2 separate regions of the Homo sapiens genome follow, and region 1 is linked to region 2. The links are contacts of gene promoters, found by promoter capture Hi-C in human tissues and cell types (Jung and others, 2019). All regions are on one chromosome and are shown on one strand. Each heading gives the region's core, a stretch centred on a gene start or on the middle of the fragment in contact. The rest is flanking DNA. Distances are from core to core; before and after follow the strand shown.

What was found. The method cuts DNA at HindIII sites, captures the fragments that hold promoters and counts their contacts. A contact is called where the count stands out against the background at its distance.
Region 1: the fragment with the promoter of DNAJC5 here is called in contact with the fragment with the promoter of SLC17A9 in region 2 in 2 of the 25 tissues and cell types used here (spleen and stomach).

The regions. Positions count from the first base shown.
Region 1 is chr20:63,893,847-63,897,297 of GRCh38, reverse strand. It overlaps DNAJC5 (DnaJ heat shock protein family (Hsp40) member C5), which reads right to left and starts at 2,172. Exons shown (of 5, transcript NM_025219.3): 1 at 1,975-2,172. RefSeq lists a silencer at 2,091-2,330, enhancers at 2,330-2,857, 2,790-2,959 and a cis regulatory region at 2,874. The HindIII fragment of the contact is 9,208 bases long and covers 1-3,451 here.
Region 2 is chr20:62,950,689-62,954,192 of GRCh38, reverse strand. It overlaps SLC17A9 (solute carrier family 17 member 9), which reads right to left and starts at 1,484. Exons shown (of 13, transcript NM_022082.4): 1 at 1,304-1,484. The coding sequence starts at 1,362. RefSeq lists silencers at 1,264-1,363, 1,374-1,693 and an enhancer at 1,245-2,074. The HindIII fragment of the contact is 20,012 bases long and covers 1-3,504 here.

The sequences.
Region 1 (3,451 bases), core at 923-3,422, 940 kb before region 2:
CTCAGCCTCCCTAGTAGCTGGGATTACAGGCACACGCCACCACACCCAGCTAATTTTGTATTTTTAGTAGAGATGGGGTTTCACCATGTTGGCCAGGCTAGTCTCGAACTCCTGACTCCAAGTGATCCGTCCGCCTCAGCCTCCTAAAGTGCTGAGATTACAGGCATGAGCCACTGTGCCCCCAACAGATCTGACTTTTTAGAAACGTTTTAACTTCAAAATAATTATAGATTCAAAGTTGCGAAAAGATTTACAAGGGTCCCATGCACCCTTCCAAGCCACCCCTTACCTGGCTGTCTTTCCTCATTGGGCAGGTGAGAGATGGTGGCTCTCTGTCCTGAGGGCCAACACTCCAGGAACCCTTACCTCTACATGCTCAGTCCTCACCGACAAGGACTTCCGGGTGACAAGGCCAGCACCACGCACAGCTGCTGCTAAGCTCCTCACGTTCATTCACTGAACAAATATTTACTGGGCCCCGATCATGTGCCAGCAACTGTTTTTTTCACAAAACATTCTCTCCACGGACCTTACTAACTCACAGTAAAATATTAAGTATGATAAATGCATTAAGCAGGACACTAGGAGGATTCAGCGCTGTGGGAAAATTAAGCGAGGAAGGGAACTGGGTGGCAAGGCAGGCAGGCAGTCGCCAGGCTAGGGGGTTAAGGAACCAGGCATTCCAGGAAGATCCAAGGACAGAGCATGTGGCTCTGTTCAGAACTAGCAAGGAGGCTGATATGGCAGGTGCAGAGTGAGTCAGGGGCCAGTCTGAGGGTGGGTGGACTCAGACGCTGCAGGCTCATTAACACCCTCGCCAGGGGTGTCCCTCAGAGTCCACACAGCCAGCAACCAGAGCGGGCCCCTACAGCTCTCTGCTGGGCCAGACGCCAGCTGGAGCCACCCCGAGTCCTACAGCACCGACACAAGTGAAAGGGGAACTCAACCGAAACTTCCCCAAAGCCCTTAGATCCAGGCTTCTAATTTCATCTCTTGTTTGACAGACTACTCATTCCTGAAACTCAGCTGACATTTTTTTAAAAAGAGAAGCAAATAAACGAACATAAAATCTCAGAAGCTTTGAGTAAACTTTTGCCTTCAGGTAACCATGACAATAGTGGGAGCAATGTAACTGTTTTTGTCATTAGAATAGGTTTTTCTAAACAGGCAAATAAGGGCAGACGTGTCTAACCACCATCAAATCTTCCCAACCAAGCCTAAGCCGGAAAACAAAAATAAAGCTGAAATTTTTGCTTCCTTTTCCTGTATGACACAACTGAATGAATTTGAGAAATCATGGCTTCGGCACACGAAAAAGAGAGTCTTTAATCCAGACACTTAACACCAACAAGTTAGAACCTGAACGGACGAGTTCCTAATACTCTCCTTAAGAGTTCAATATAAAGCATGGCTTCAAATGTTTTTATAAAGCGGAGAAAACAGGTTTTTTCTAACAAACCAAATGCTTTTTGGAATTTACAACGTCGGAAAGATTAATTTACGATGCGTTACAGAACAATTTTCAATTCCCCGAGCTATAAACACAACGACCCAGGGACTAAATTATCTGCCTCCCTAAGACCAGCGATGGCCCAGCTTCTCCAGTCCCCCCGCAGGAGAGGAGACCCCGGGGGGTTGGGGGCGGCCGCGGGGACCTGGGGGAGCGGAGGGGGCGTCCGGGCCCGAAGAGACCCGCGGAGAGCGCCGCCCCAGCCCCCACCACGGTGCTCAGACCCCCGGCCCGGCCCGGCCCGGCTCCCGCAGGCCCCGGCGCCGACCTTCCCGCGCCCCCGCCCCGGCCCAGGCCGCGGCGTCGCAGCAGCTCCGGCCCCGAGCGCCCGCGCAGCCCCGGCCCGGGGGTCGCCGCCATTTCCGGCTCTGGAGTGCCGCCCCCGCCCCCCACCCGCGCCCGCCCGCCCGCCTGCCCGGGCCTGACGTGGGCCGATCCGCCCGCCCGACCCGCAGCGAGCTCACCTGCCCGTCCGCCCGCCCGCCCGCCCTCCCGCCGGCTCCGCGGCTCCGCTCCCCGATTCGCGGCGCTGCTGGGCAGCGGCCGACGCACTCCTCAGCCTGGAGACCCCGGGCGGCGGCGGCGGCGGCGGCAGAGGGCGCGGGTGCGGCACCGGCAGCGGCAGCGGCAGCGGCAGCGGAGACGAGCACGCTCACGCACGCACCCGCACCGGCGCGCGCGCTCCCGGAAGGACGTGGGCTCCGGCGTGTCGGAGCCGCGGGTGGGACCGGCTGCGCATGCGCTCAGAGAGCCGAGCGGAGGCTCCGTCCATGAAGGGGCGGAGTCCCGAGTGACAGCCCGGGGCCGAGGCGCCCTGTGGAGGCTCCGCCCATGAGTGGGCGGGGACGAAGCGCGGGGGCGGAGCCAGTCCTCCCAGTCTTCAGGTGGCCGCAGGTGGGTCCCGGGTGGACACGCCATGTGCTGCGGGGAACCGCGCAGAAAGAGAAGCGCAGGGCTTGCTGGTCTTGCAGGTGAGTTTACTCAGCGCTTTAAGTAAGACTGAGAAAACGTAATCGTTCTCATCAAAGAACTGAACAGGGAGCTGGTGGGAGACGGCTGCGGACCGTCGCCCCCGCCCCCACCCGGAGCCACCGTCCTGGGACTGACATTTGCTCAACCCTGGAGCGCCGAGATGGGACGTCCTTCCTTCCTTCCTGTCCAACCACTGAAATGCCGTCGCCAGCGCCCTCCCACCCTCCCGGAATCATCTCCAAACAGCAGCGTGGAGAGGCAGGACCACGAACGTCCACTCCACCTCCCTCTGCCCTTGCCCATCCCGTCGGCCACCCTTCCCTGTCCCTGTAACTGCAGGCGCTCCGCCACTCACTGACGGCCTGCCCCGCGTAGGCTGCCTGGGCCACTTCCCATCCTAGAAGCTCCCAGACCTCTGCGGCCGGTGCTCCTGCCTCCTCGCTTCCACCCTTGCCCGTTTACCTGAGTTCAGTGCGGTCATCTTTTTAAAACAAACCCAGTAGCATCCAAGGCTTCCCGTGACACACTGCGTGAAACCCAAATTCTCTCTCAACACGCTCTGGCCTCCTTCCTCTGCCCTCATAACTCACTGCCATAATGCCGGTCTTGAATTGCCAAGCTTGTTCCAGTCTCACAGCCTGGAAGTGTCAGAGCTTGGGAAGCCTCCTAGCAGTCATTAAGCTGCGCAACATCAAGCAGGCAGCAAGAAAAGGCCTATGGAACCCAAGAAGCAGAAAGGCCAGGTTCATATCTACAACTATAGATTCCAAGAGAATGAAATATTTCAGGCCAGAATTGGAGGGATGAGAGAATGAAATGGGCCTGGTACCGATCTCAGATTGAAGCTATATTCCACTTGTGCTGGGAGCTGCAAGAATGAATGAACCAGCCTTAAGTGAGTCCCTCTGAGACCTAGCAGTTCCACTTTAGGGACATTCTTCCAAAGAAAATATTCCTAAATACAGAAAA
Region 2 (3,504 bases), core at 235-2,734:
TGAAGAGCTGTGGCAAGGGCTCCTTTTTAAACATCGAGCCTGGGAGGGACGTAGTGAAGGCTGCGGCAAGGGCTCCTTTTTAAACATCGAGCCTGGGAGGGACGTAGTGAAGGCTGCGGCAAGGGCTCCTTTTTAAACATCGAGCCTGGGAGGGACGTAGTGAAGGCGGAGCCACTCAAACCAGCCGCCAGTGAGGAGGCCCTGAATCCCTGGGGAGCTGGCCCTGCCCGGCAGGCCTGGATGAACGTGGGTGGGGGAAGAGGAAGAGAGCAAGGGGCAGGGCCCGCTGAGGGCAGCCCTCCCCTCTAATTGGCGCCTGACAGGGCTGTGATCTGGGCTGCCAGCTTTTCCCATGCAGCCAGCGCTCCCTTCATCTGGGTGCCAACATCCGATGGTGGCACTGCCCCTTTGGGCCTTCCTACAACTCTTCCCAGCACTTCTAGGGTCCTCAGCCCTCATACAGCTGGGAACTGGTGGGGCCAGAAGGTGCCATTACCTTGCCATGGTCAGGGTAGGTACCCTGGGGACTCAGTGCAGGCAGGAGACTGCTCTGGAACCCACAGGGCCTGAGTCTAGGCCCAGGGTCCAGCCACTTAAGGCCTCAGCCCAAGACCCAGAGCCAAGGGGTTCAGCAGTGTGGGGGCTGCTCTCAGGAGCTCCCTGGCAGAGGCCCTCCCCAGCTGACCAATGGCCCGCGGTCACCATCTCGCCCGGTTTCTGAGGCGTCACCTGCCCAGGGAGCCTCCTACAGGCAGCAGTGCTGGTGGCCAGGCGACCTGCCCAGGCCCTGCTTCTCCCCACCACCAAATGCTCCGAGAGCTGAAGCCAGCGGGGAGCTCGTCCTCAGCACACAGCTGGCACGTGGTGGCAGGACCCCCCCCAACCCCGTCCAGCTGCAGGCTCCAGCCCGTGCCCCCTACCTGGCCTCCTGACTGTCCTGGCGCCTGCTTGTCAGGGTCATGCATACACAGGGTGGTTCCACCTGGCGAGGGGTATGCCTCCTGACTGTCCAGGACAATGCCCCTGGCCTGGGGAACATAGCCCTGCCTGGAAGAGCCCCAGGAACACTGGCTGGGATAGGGCACTTGCCAGGTCCGGTCCTGGAATCTCATGGCAGGGAGGAAGGACAGGGCACTCACTTCCTTCCACCTCCCACAAGGAACACAGGGGGCCCCACAGCCAGAGGAGCCCGCCCAGCTCAGCCCTCCCCACCTAGCATCGTCCCACGTGGCAGTATCTCAGCTCCCTCCCCACGGCCCCATCTCCACCGCTCCCACCCCCCCTCCCCTCACCCCCGCCACACCTGGACCACTGGGTGTCCCCGGCCATGTCCCTGCGGGCCTCGTCTGGGGGTGGCTGCATCGGGCTTGGGGTGCTCAGACGGCGTGGGCACAGCTGTGTCCCGGGGCTGCCTCCCAGCCCAGGCTGACCCACCCGGGCAGCACCGCCCAAGTCCACGTGTCAGTCCCAGCGCGCTTCCGTCTGGTTCTCTCAGGACTTGTCGCCCCCAGACGGCCACCAGGGCGGGCAGGCGGGGCAGGGCGGGGCATACCACTCGGGTGCCCGCCCCACCCTGCTGACGTCGGTCCCTGCTGCCCCATAGGAGCGGGGCCAACGGTCGCCCTGGCTGGGTCGCCCTGACTGTCCGACGCGCCCTGGCTCAGCCCCAGCAGAGGTTAGTGTGGGGGCAGAGGGGGATTCCCAGCAGCAGGCCGGTCAGACTGGGGCTTCAGAGAAGGGCCCTGGTGGTAAGCCTGGTCCAAGAGGTGCCAGCCCATCCCTTGGACACGACACGGAGCCATGGGGCCGTCTGTCCTCTGTCTATAAAATGGGGAATGATGGCAGTCCCTGCCTTACCGATCAAATAAAATCAGGGATAAAGTCTTAACCAAGTGCAAAGAGAGTAAAAGTACAGGGTCACTGATTTTTAAAATGGATCTTTCGGGGCAGGGATGGGTCCACTCCTGAGCCCTTGGACCAAGCCTGGGAGAGCTGGACAAATCCAGCGCTGGCCCATGTCTTCTCAGCAGATGCCTGTGAAGGTTGTCATTGGCCCCTGGGTTCCTGGACAAAAGGTGTCCTGAGGACCCATCACAGGCCAGGTTCTGGGCTCGGGGGCAGGGGTGACGGGGTGGGGCCCCCACTCTGTGTGCTCCTGCTGCCATGCCAAGGATGAAGCCAGCAGGGGAAGGCCTCAACCATGCAGCCTTTCCCCAGGAGGCGGCAGGGCCTGCTCCTCAGGCGTTGCCCCCACCTCCACTAGGGCCCACCTCAGTCCATCCTCCACGCAGCAGCCACCACCCAGGGGCCGAGGGAGACACGTCTAAGGCAGGGCCTTGCACTTAGAACAGACCCACATTTACCCCCTCCCTCCCCCTAGCCCTCAGGTCTCCAACAGCCCAACCCACTGCACTGCAGGGCCTGCTCCCAGGGCCCTCTGAACAGAAAGACACGGGCACCCTGAAAAGCAAGGTCATACTTTCATCCATCCTGACGTAGGGTAGGTGAAAAGATGGTGGCAGAGAGAGGTTTATTGCCCCAAACAGCCCTAGCCCATAGCCAGGAAGTTTGGAAACTGTTGCTAAACGTATCGCTGTCAACAGCACCCTCTTTGAGGTGATTCGCTTCCATTCACTCTGTGATGGTGATTTCCTACCGAGATCTGTGATCATGCTGCAGCAGACATTTGCCATCTGGTTACCCAAAGTCCCCTTCCTCCTGGAGCTGATGTTCTGGGGCAGGTAGACAAAAATCAAAGTAGTGAAAGGGGTAGGGAAGGGGTGTTACTTCAAATAGGTTGGGCTGAGGAGGCACCCCTGGACACCTGAGTGAAGGCTGGATGAGCTGAAGAAACGGGCCATGCAGGGATGGCTGGGTGGGTGAAGGGGCCATCTCACAGGGACATTATAAAGCTGGGTGCTGGTAGTGGCCAGATGGAGGCTCTCCACGCTTCTGGTGGATTCTGAGAGCTGCCCCGCACCCAAGCATCTTTGAGGCCTAAGGTGAAAAATTATGTAGGGACAATAGACAGTCAACACCTGGGTTTTCAAGGACACAGGGTGACCTTGCGGACAGGGCAGTCACAGCCAGCACCCACTGGCCTCTGCTTCTGGAAGGCTGCGTGCCTCCCTCTTGTTGGGCCTGGCCCACCTAACTTCTTGTTTATTTCAAGTGCTGCTATAGGGAGACGATGCTAGAGATTTTCCTAAAGCAAATCCACACCTCACTACGTATGGCGCCCGTTGCTCAGCCTCTGCATCCACACCCCCCACAGACGCCCCAGGAGACCCCGCACAGCTTCTTGTAAACCAAGACAAGCCAGCCCTGGGCCTGGGGCTCCTCCCTGCACCCCACTTAGCCCTGCAACCTTCCAGCCCAACTACAATTCTCAAGATGAGGAGTCCATGAAAAGGAGACTGACAGATGACACTTTCCTCTGCCATGACTGACAGGCAGCAGCAAGAGGGAAGACCGCGGTACTGGACATCACGTGCGGGAACTGCC